Linked DNA regions of Homo sapiens: region 2 is linked to region 1. The links are contacts of gene promoters, found by promoter capture Hi-C in human tissues and cell types (Jung and others, 2019). All regions are on one chromosome and are shown on one strand. The core of a region is centred on a gene start or on the middle of the fragment in contact, and the rest is flanking DNA. Distances in the headings are between cores, read along the strand shown.

What was found. The method cuts DNA at HindIII sites, captures the fragments that hold promoters and counts their contacts. A contact is called where the count stands out against the background at its distance.
Region 2: a fragment that was not itself captured here is called in contact with the fragment with the promoter of KRTAP13-4 in region 1 in 2 of the 25 tissues and cell types used here (stomach and thymus).

Annotation. Positions count from the first base shown.
Region 1 is chr21:30,427,678-30,433,553 of GRCh38, reverse strand. KRTAP13-4 (keratin associated protein 13-4) reads right to left here and starts at 3,334. Exons shown (of 1, transcript NM_181600.3): 1 at 2,528-3,334. The coding sequence starts at 3,278. The coding sequence ends at 2,796. All of the region lies in intron 3 of LOC105372772 (a long non-coding RNA gene), which reads left to right. The HindIII fragment of the contact is 9,351 bases long and covers 1-5,876 here.
Region 2 is chr21:30,219,009-30,224,884 of GRCh38, reverse strand. No RefSeq gene overlaps it. Among named protein-coding and RNA genes, the nearest start is that of CLDN8, 5.8 kb to the right of the region's middle. The HindIII fragment of the contact is 8,230 bases long and covers 1-5,876 here.

The sequences.
Region 1 (5,876 bases), core at 2,085-4,584:
CAGTTTTATATTAGAACTGTCAAATGCTTCAAACAGAAAATAAATTAATTCCAATAATGTTTTGATTTCTTCGCCTAGCCCCCCCAAAAGAGTAAAGCTATAAAAAGTTCATAATGTTCTGTTTGATAAAGCTAATGTAAAGTTATTTTAAAAGTTCAACATTGAAGATGAGATTATCTGTTGTATCCATAATGATAAAAAGTACAAATTTTGGTAAGGACATCATGGTAAAGAAAATAAGAGTCCTGTGGAGAAGACGCACATTTTTAATTGTGGTGAATACATAACTCACTTTGTATCCGAATAAGCTGCAATATTCTATCAATAAAAGTAGAAGATATAATTTGAAAAATTTTAAAACACTTTGTATATACTCTAAATTGTACTGGCAATCAATACTTTTCCTTACCTTGTTAATCACCATGTTCACGTTTTTCTACTGTATTATCTTTGAGCTCTTGTTTCATTTATTTTAAGCAATAATTTGTATTGTTTTATACAGAAAAGTAAATGAAAGGAATTTCCTTATGTTTATCAATATTTTTTACACATTGTATGCTGCTTCTGCATTCTATATTATTAGTTTACTCAAGAACATTGCCATGAATTCACTCTGATTGATTCCATCCCCCTTCAGTCCAATCTCACCAAAATGGGAATCTGATTTACGTTATTAGTGAGATGTTGCAAGAGTCTGCAATTTCACCATTCTTGTTCATAATGCTTGGTATTATTGAAGGCAGAACTTTATATCTATCATCTTGGATCCTAAATCTGAAAAAACTAAGTTACACTCATGATAATAATTAAAATGTTAAGATATGTCATAGAACTCAGAATTCATAACATTTTCTTCCTGAGATGCCATTGATTATTTTTCTATTACTCTACTATTTGTTATAACCGTTAAAATGTTATTTAAATAAATTAGTTTACCTTCTTTGGAGCTCTTCTCCTAAACTCTAAATTTATTTGTATTTTCATTCTTTATTACTGATACTACTCATGAGGCTACACAAATAAATCCAATAGTGGATCATCTCCATTTAGATGAATAGTAATTCTGCAGTATTTCTGTACTACTAGAAATACTAAGTGTTCCTTGGTTGAACTAGGAGTTGTATTTTTTAATAAAAAGAAAAGAAAAACCAGAAAAGAGTAACAAAACAAGATTCATTCAAGAGATCATATTCTACCAGGTCTTTGATCTGTAAGCCTTGGCCAGTTTTAAATCCTTTTAGAGTTTCCATTCCCCCATGCCTGTAAAGGTCTATAGTATACAGTATTTGTCTTTCTCACAGGGATGTTAAGTATTAAGGGAAAATCTGTTACCTGATAACTCTTTTGCCTTCTTGTGTGGTATACACTCACCTATGACCACAAGCATAGCAATGCAAACCATTTTATGTTGGCTTCAACCACCTTTGTGTGGACAACATCTGCCCTCAGTCATATGCAACGCCACTTTTACTGTACCTGGGTTTCTTCCAGGTCACAACTAGGAAAACAGAAGGTGCCCACTGTGATTCTTTCCTTGCATAATTATAAGGTTCCTGAAAATTACACATCTTGGATATTGTTCAGCCAATGGGAGAAAGAAGCGGATGGATAAATGTTTTTCCATGTTGATCTGATCCTGTGGGGGACAATTCCAAGAGTCATTCTACATGCTCCTAAAAGGTCCTTACAAGATTTAGCCAAGTTGCTCTCCATAAAATAAACTCGAAAATGCACCCTTTCTTTAGATTTTCCTCTTTGATTCTTTCATCTTCCATAGTGTCTCATACTTGCTTCCTGGGATCTTGTGCCACATAAACTGTTTGCACCCAAATCTTTGACATTAGCCTTGTTCTGGGGAGAAGAGGAGGATCCAGAGTAAGACTAATGGATATAAATGCTTGTTCAGCATGGCTCAGGTGTGTTGCTGTCAGCTTGATTAAGGTTGAGCCTTGAAGAAGCATCGGTAGGTTACCGAAGCCTCCTGGACCCAATAATTCCCACTTAAGATCATTGGTGAATGATCCTGACTCTCCTTACCAGTGGGAGGCAGGAAACCTGGCACTTAAGTCTACTAACAAAGAGCAAAGCGTCTGTCCTAGCAGTGCTTAAGCTTCACTTTTCTCTTGGTTGAAAATCCACATTCAGATACTAGACTTTAAGTAACCTTTAGTGCAAGCATACAGTTTACCTTATAAATTACATCCTAGTCTTGTTGTCTGCATTTCTAGTTTATGCATCAAATTTTCTGCTTTCCTATATCAGTAGAAATGCATGTCCTTCATTCTTAGACAATTCTCACTGCTGTTGAGACAAGTCTGCAGATGCAAACTATGTTCTTCCAGAAATGATTACTCTTAATAGACAACATACCTAATTTCAAGAGAAATGTTCTCAGATCTGTCAGATTATATGGGCCCCAAATCCAGTTACACAGTCATATTGATTTTTACTTAAATCTCCCAAATTCTTGAATGCAAAAATGTAAGCAAAATAATAATAATAAAATAATAACAATGTGAACAATATATTTGGGTACCAGATTACATACATTTATTAGATTAAAATTTCCATTTTCAACAGTTTTTGGATGAAAATCAGATAGCATATATTCGATCAATGGTAAAGATATTAGAAGTTAATATTAGGTTACTCATTAATTTCGCAGTCTGCCAGAAGTTGGTCATGCAAGAAGCTGGTGGTGGAAGAATAAAAAGATATTGGGATCTGGCAAGAATGAAAATAATGGCTGCATTCAGTAGAGACTTTGATCCCAATACTCAAAAGGATCTAGAAATTTAGCAGGTGAATTGATAGAAGCGAGATCCACAGATTGGTCTGTAACAAGAAGACTGCCAGGCTCCAGAAGCCAAGTAGTTTGGGTAGCAGAATCTGGATCCGTAACTCAGGGAAGGAAAACCACAGCCTCCATATTTCAGGAATCTGAAGCCACTGGATCCATTTCCCAGCGAGTAGCAGCACCTAGATCCATAGCCCTGGGAGCGACAGCTGCTGGACCGAAAGCCTAGAGATCCAGAGCAAGTCGTCTGACAGGGACAGCAGAGGATGGAGGTCCTGGGGCGGTAGCAGGATTTCTGGCAGCTGGCGGGCTCCCAGCAGGTCTTCTGACAGTCCCTGTAGAGAGAGGAACGCAGCTGGCAGGTGCTGGGAGAGCAGAGGGCAGTGCTGTAGACCAGGCTGCTGGGGTAGGAGCCTGGGTAGTACAGGTAGCCCCCAAAGGAGCGGGAGGAGAAGTTTCTAGAGCAGCAGTTGTAGGACATGCTGATGAGAGATGGGAGTTCAGCTGAGTGTACCTAAGAAGATTCTGAGTTTTAATGTCGCATCCTGGACAAGGGCATTTATATCCTCTCAGCAATAGGTGTGGTGCCCAACAGGGTCATCCTTTACATATTTGTGATCCCTCATTTACATATGTGTAACTGCGTAATCTTGTCTGTAATTGCATTTGAATAGTTTTCCATGTATTGTATTTATGGGTGCTATAATTTTCGTGTTATAGCACAAAGCCAATGAACTGTACTTATGTCAGAAATGCTATGACTGTTTTATATTAATGTCTAGCTCATCATGACAAGGAAAGCTCTTCCTATTTCTTTGGCACATGCTAACTGCCTCTTTTCCTGTGTATTCACATCTGGCTTTGCTAGTAGATGTTTTCCTCTTAAGAGTGGGGAATGAGATAACGTTAGTTTCTTTCTGGTGCAATTTCCACCTGGATGAGAACCTTTGTGAAAATGATCCATCTTGTCACCATTGATTGCTATACTCCAAAATTACTTTGTGGTGATTTTTTAGGGCGGTAAGAGTAAATTAATACATTAAGTACTACAGTTATAAAGTCTGTCTCATATCCAGTGAAGAAAGATCAAGAACAGGCAAAGCAAAGAGATAGAAAGAAATGGCTAGAAATTGAAAGAAACCTTGCCATTTATTTAAAGACGAGATAACAAAAAGAAGCTCGATTGAAACACAGTCACAGAGAAGATCAATTTGAGGTCATGTCTCTTCAGCCAAAGAGCCCGAATGCTTGTCTGCTGAAGGGAGGAAACAAGTGAAAGAGAAACAAAGAGAAAGCTCAGGAATTTCAGAATTTTTTTTCCTATTGCATTCCAGCTGTCATGTGTCTTGTCTCAATGTCTTTATGAGCAAAAATTTTCAAAATTAGCAAATCTTATGAACTTTGATATATTTATCATCTACTTTTGTAATTATACAGGACTTCTACCTTCTTAGAATGGCTCTAGCTTTCCATATTACTGGCTTTCAGTGTCTTTTTGCCACTTGTAGAACCAGGTACCATCCTACATTTTCCTGTGAAAATGTGAAGTTTCTTTGTTCCCCAGTCCTCTTTTCCTCTGCATGGTATATGAATGTTTCTCTCTTATTTTCTCTCTCTCTTCCTCTGACTTTCTTTCCCTCTATTTTTCTTTCTTTTTTCTGTGCTTAAGTTTGATTTTATCTTTTTTCTTTTTTTTACTTGTTATATTTTATGTTTTGTTCATGTGTTTGTTTGCCTCTGCTGAATTATAGATTCCATGTTGAAAAATAAAAATTGGACAGCTTTGTCGTATTCTTTGAGGATAGCCACTTTGTAAGTTCATTCACAAAATATTCTATGTTGAAATACAAGTAGTTAAATTATATTCAGGACCAAAGAAAGTGTACTGTCATGGTTGATGACATTTTATTTTATAATAAAATATAATAAACTTACAACAATAATGTTAGACATTTTCTCGATTAAATTTTCTCAATTAAAATGTATGGCAATATTGAAAAGTAACTTAATATAGGCCTTCCAGAAGGAAGAATGAAGAAAGAAGCAAATATGGCCAATTCAAATATCTATTCAGTGAGTTACTTTCTATTTTTCAATGGCAGTTGATTTCCCCTAACCTTGTACCTTAGTAAGTAGGTTTGGAAACTATTCCTTCCCCATTTTCTTTTGTTTCAAATGTAACTCTTTAAAATAATCTTGAATACAAAACTTATGAGTTAAATGGAGAGCATGAATTTATTCAGGCAAAACTAAGGGATTTAGTGAATTTGTCTTCAGTTAATCCAGGCTCCTTATTCAAAAATCCTTCTCTGAACCAGTTATTGTGAAAAGAGGTGTTCTTCCCTTCTCTCTGCCTCTAAATCTCTAAAACTTTGTCCACATTAATTTGATAGAAGTTTAAGAAGAACTTGTAAATGCCACAACTTTGGACTCACTTCATCTTGGAGATCATATTATTTGTTCTGTTTAATATGGAGCCTCATCATTGTTGTTTCTTTTTTTGACTGAATTATTTATCAACAATTAAAAATTGAGATCTTTCACATAAAATATATGGCTCAGGGATATACATCAAAAGGCTTCTGATCTTTTGACAGATGATTCTCTTCACTGGGCTATGAATAATGGCTTTGGATATTTGAGATATGTTTTCAACAGAATCTCATCCATAGTTGAAAATTACAACGTTTGGCACCTACCTGCTTCTCTTTTCAAAATAACCAGGCAACTTGTCACTAACATGCTGGAAAATCTTGCTTTCACTAACCATCCAGGTTACAACCTCAATAAGCAAAAGCCAATACTTCTATATAAAGATTGAAAATAGAAAAAAGAGTATAAGCCATATGTAATGTAGTTAAAAAGTGTACCTTGCTTATAATTGGAATCTAAGCAAAAGAAAGATGAGAGGATGGGGCAGAAGCAATATTTGAAGAGAGTACAGTTGGGAATTTACCAATCTTGATAAAAGACATCAACTCACACGTGAAATAATAGGAGAATGGTGTAGATCTAGTCTAACTAAGGTGGAGATGGCTGAAAAAATGAGTTTTAGCAGATATTACCTGGAGACAGTCTG
Region 2 (5,876 bases), core at 2,026-4,525, 210 kb after region 1:
AGTTATGTATTATTCTATATTGTATTTGTCTGTATTTGTGTTAATATACTTAGAGAAAAATAATTATAATTAATGATTCCTTGGTATAGTAAAATTATATATTAAACAAAAATGGTAGCCTAGGCTCTTAGTCCATCAATATTTGCCATGGTAATTGGAAGGATATTGGATTAATAATAGCAAGCATTGGAAAAATGGGATTTGCATACTGAGAAGAGAGAAATGAGATAGAATAAATGAGAAAATGAAGGTCAGTTCACAGGGCATACTTAGGAAACTTAAAGAAAGCTGAAGTAAAATTCATGAACCCACTGGGACATAAGTTTACCTCTTAAGAAGGCATATTCAGAGGCATAGTGATGGGCTGATACAGCCAAAGGTGAGTTTTATTTTAGGCTCTTCTCTGCTTAAGCATCGACCTGAAAAAATAAACTGAAAATATTATATAACTTATATATAGGAGAGTTTTTTTTTTTTTTTTTACAATACTGGGTACATAGGTTATTTTTCTTAACTAACATTCTTCTTTTATTTATGGAATATTTCCTGAGCTCTTACTATGAACCAGGTGATGTTTTAGTAGTTGGAAATACATTTATGAGCAAGACAAAATCATGTGGCTCATGATATTTATATTCTATTTTAGGAGATTTTTAAAAAGACAAATACATAAATAAGCAATAGGCAGTTTACTTGTCTACGGTGTCATAGTTTCCGAGTTACCAAGCAAATATCAAGAACTGGGCACAGAGATTTCAGCGTGATTTGCGTGGTATTAGATAAATACTGAGTGCTCTCTATGTGCCAGGCACTACACAAGTACTTTACTTTGACACGAAGATGAATAGAACAGAGGTGGTTCCTGACTTCCTGGAGCTTTTGAGCCCCTCATGTACAGAATGAAGTGCACATCAGATGTTCTTTTAGATCTGTTTTGAGTCTAATATTCTCTCCTGTTGCCATGTACAAAAGTAACTTGTGTTTCCCTGTTCCAAGCTCGTGACCAGGAAGGAGGCCATGTGGGCTGGGACCAACCAGTTTGGTGACATAAGAATGAAATAGAATGTTGTTGTCCAGTGTGAGACATCAAAAGTCCAGTTAAAACTATGAAAAAGATGCCCAGAAGCCAGTCAGATAATCACATACAGCTCCCCATAGCAGCAACTCTAAAGATATCTGGAACGTAGGTCAGAGAAAAAGAAAGATAAGAACAAGAAATAGGAGCTGCATGAACCAGAAAGGTGTGTGAAAATGTGAGACAGCCAGCTTACCTCTGCTGAATGTTTATAGACTCCTGGCATTGCTTTTCATTGATTGTTTGATCTTGTTTAGAAAACATCAAAACCCTGGAAGCTGCTTTTTTTTCAATGGAGTGAAGGGTGGCTGTTCTCACCTGTCTGTGTGGCTACTTGTATGCTTTTTCAAGTTGAAAAGAATAGTTGGTTAACAAGTTTAACCAATGACAGAGTTAATTGACTCAGCAGTTCTTTCTTCCACTAGCCCCTCAGTTTTGTGGATGTAAAATTACAAAGAAAAGAAACTATGCCTCATATTTCTTGGTTTCCAGAGTCTATCACAGGGCCTGGTACATAGTATACTTGTTGAACGGTTGGAAAATAAGTGTTCAGAAGATGTTTTATGAGACATCGTCTTGAAAATTTTACAGAAAGTACAAAATCTCTATAAATATTTGAGATGAGGAGTTGAATAACTTTTAGTTTTACTCATATTCTCATTGAAAAAATTTTAGTGCATCCAGCATATTATTATAGATTGTAATATTTTCTCTTAAAAAAATAACTGAAACCCAAGAATGCCATGAGCTGCTTGTTCCAATAATATTCTCACCCAGTGCCATGTAAAGTTGGTTTTAAGTAAGGCACTTAATGTCTAGCCCTATTAAAATTTGCAAACACTGGTTGCCTAAGGCAGACAGAATCTTAATTTGAATTTTAAGTGGAAAGTTAATTGTTTTGCAAATTAATCAGTAATGTGGCTTAGCTCTATTTGCCCAGTTAATTACTTTTCCCTGTCCTGTTCCCTGTCCTGTTAACTTCAACTTTACAAGGGAAATTGTTTCTTGTGCTCCTATATTCATTGTTTGCTTATAAGGACATTTTGTGTGTGTGTGTATGTGTGTGTGTGTGCACCCTTGTATGTGTTTTCCATTTGTGTGGACTTTTCCCTTATATCTTATGATTTCCCTCATATCTTATGATTTCTCATATTAAACAATGCATGTTGCTGCAGAAAATGGAAACACTTCATTTCTCCTTATAATGCTCAAAATCCTATTGAAAATTCACAATGTGAAGGACATTGTTTCAGAGAACTCCTTCTGATCTACCAAAACTTATATGCTTTATAAGAGATAAAACTACACATTGACACAAGCTTTCAATTAGGTTTACAGGTAGGTCTATAATGACTTGTAGCACATAGTGGGTCAAGAGTGTAGCCTCAGGTGTTTGACAGAATAGAGTTCCCATATTGGCTTTTTTTACCAGTTTGTTGTGAGGATTTGGGTCAGTTATTTAAACTTTGTAAATTCCAGTTTCCTAGTAAAACTGACATAATAAAGGGCTTTTCTAATAAGGGCGTTGGGAGGCTGAAATCATATGGTTAACTAATATGATATCACTTAATCTTAATTGTTCATATAACTTAGTAATTATTAAGTAGTTCTTATGACTAGGATTAAGTAATATTTATTAAAATATATTATTTTAAGCATAGTCATATTAAATATATTATCTATTATCCTATGTGCCTTTTCTCTTCTCTTCCTTTTTATAATTAACATGACTTAAACTTGTGAATTGCTGTGGATTCAAAATAAAATTATGAAAAGTGCTCTGTTTTGGTCCTGTTCATTATCTGATGTTATCATTTTTAGTACTAATTACAGTCTCTGCCTGGCCAGAAACTTTTGTCATGGACCGTTTGTTCTCCTCATTCAATGCTTCATATGCTTTACATTTCAGTAGAAAGGATTATTATGGGAGATTAAGGGATTTTTTTAAAAAATTTGTTTTTCAAGCAATTCCAAAAATAACCATGTGGAAAACAGTTTTATACAACTTAAAAATGTTTTTTTTTTTTTAATTTTAGCGTTTGGAAAAGGTAAAAAGAAAAGTTGTTAGTGAGTCACCTGAAAAAGCAATTTTAATGGACTAATGAAGGTAACCATAGAATCATTCCTCTGTTGGTCACTAAGAAGTCCCTATAAAATACAAAGGAAAGTTTCTCTGTATTATAATTAGCTGAGGGCACAGACACATGTAACTGTTCACTTTCATTGCATTGAAATAGTTTAATGCTTACTTTAGCCAAATACTTGTTCAGTGGTGGTTAGGTCATTCAGTATCACGACCTAGTCTGTAATTAAGGAATCACGAAGATGGGGACAAGCATGGGAAGTGAAGGAAAAAGGGGTGCCACTGGTACCTTCAGCACAGGGAACTCTCTCAAATTCTAAACAAGGAATAATTTTATTGAAATTGCCAATATTTCCCCAGTAGAAACTCCTTTGAATAGAGTATCTAAAGAGGTAGATTTCAAATTTCAGTGAAGCAGGTATGTTTTAAAAATTGCGAAGGTTGGCCATGCAAAATTTTTACAACAATGTGCTAAGCAAGGACGAAAAATGTTTTGAACATATTTTATATCTTAATTAACTCTGACCATATATGCCAATGTAAGAAATTCTGTTTCCCTAGTTCTCTTTAAGGAGATGGTAGGCAATACAGAAAAGAATGTGGGCTTTAGGTCTGCTTCTGAATTCCATTTCTGTAGATTCAACCAGCAAAGTCTGTGTGGCCTTAAAAAAGGCAGTCTCTCTTGAGTTTTAATTTATTCAATTATAAAAGGAGAGTAATGACCCCTGCTTTCTAAAAATGTTTTAAGTATAAAGTAGAGTGATAAAAAGAATGTATTGTATAGAGAACATTTAATACTCAGTAGCTGCTATTACCAGCAAATTCTTTCTTTTTTAAAATTTTTCCTGAAATCATTAGAATTAGGGTATTTCACATCATCAATTCTCCATATATAAATTACTCATTAATTTATAGGAAAATTTCCACAGTATACAGTTTTGCTTTTTTCAGTTATCTCCCTGGATTTCCAGTACTTTAGTAGAGACATCAAATATATCACATGAAATACACAGACCTGTCTTTCAAAATATATCAGAATTCATCCTATACTTAGGTTTTAATTTTTTTAATGCAATGAAAAGCGAAAGAAAGGTAAAAACATGTCCATGACACTATTTCTATTATTGATTTTTTAATTCATGTTCACCATTCTTTTTTCATCTTGGAAAAATGAAATATTGATATGGGTGATATAATATGGGTGAAGTTCTTAAGCACCAGTAGACCCTTCAGAATTATGCAAATTTTATTGCTTGAATTTGTTAGTAGCTAGATGTTACAGACCGGATATTTGTGTACCCACTAAATTCATATGTTGAAATGTTAACCCCCAATGTGATGGGATTTGGAAGTGAGGTCTTTGAGAGTGAAACTTTGAGAGTTGTAGAGGAGGTCATGAAAGTGAAATCTTCATGACGGTATTAGTGTCTTTATAAGAAGAGAATGAGACTGGAGCTCACACTTTCTCCCTGCTATGTGAAGTCATCTCATAAAGACAGCTTTCTATAAACTGAGAAGTGGGTCCTCACCGGAACCCAGTGACACTGGCACCCTGATCTGGGACTTCAGAAGAATGAGAAATAAATTTCCATTGTTCAAGCCACTTGGTCTGTGGTATTTTGTTAAAGCAGCTTGAATTGGCTAAGATACTAGGCAATTTCTATGCAGTAAGGAGTTCATTTTTAAGCAGAGCAACTGAAAATAGATCACACAGAGGTGGTGAAAAGAGCGGTTGGGCATGGTGACTCACACCTGTAATCCCAACACTTTGGGAGGCTGAGGTGGGCAGATCACTTTAGGTCAGGGGTTCGAGACCAGCCTGGCCAACATGGTGAAACCACGCCTCTACTAAAAATACAAAAATTAACCAGCTGTGGTGGTGTGCACCTGTAATCCCAGCTACTCGGGAGGCTGAGGCAGGACAGTCGCCTGAACCTGGAAGGCAGAGGTTTCAGTGAGCTGAGATCAAGCCACTGGACTCTAGCCTGGATGACAGAGTGAGACTCCATCTCAAAAAAAAAAAAAAAAAGAAAAAGAAAAAAGAGAGACATGGTAAAAAGAGAGGGCTGCTAATGGATAGAGAACTGGAAGCATAGCTGGCCATCATGAAAAACAAACAAGATGATGGTTCAAGAGAACATACAGCAATGCACAACAGTATTTTCGGAACAACACAGAGACCTATTGATATGTTCACTTATTCTCTCAGGACAAGATGGTTGGCCAAGTATGGTTAATTAACAGTGGAACATAGTTAAAAATAAACACCCTTGAAAAACTGTCATCACAACAGAAAACTACAAAGCAAATCCAGAAAACAAAAGAAATTGACCTTTGCTTGATAGGCAGAAGCAAAAATTATTTCAAACAGTGATAAGAATTAATAGAAATCCAAGACTGTGGAGTTGAATTAGGTTAAGGATTAATGGGCATAAGACAATCTGATAGTGATTTGTATGTTATCATTTAGGAAGAAAAAGCATTTGCCTGTGTTATGCTATTATCAGGGCTGAATGCAGTTTAGCAAATTTAATTGCTAAACTTAAATCATGCCTTATGATGATGTTGACAGACAGAAAAGCCCGAGGGAGGGTGGAGAGGGGGTTGACATGAGCTCTCATTTCTCTCCTGGGTTCTTGGTAGTACTGTGGTTCTTCATGGAAATGGAAGTACAAACTATTGAATAATCGATGTATTTTGCTCTGTAGTTCTAAATTA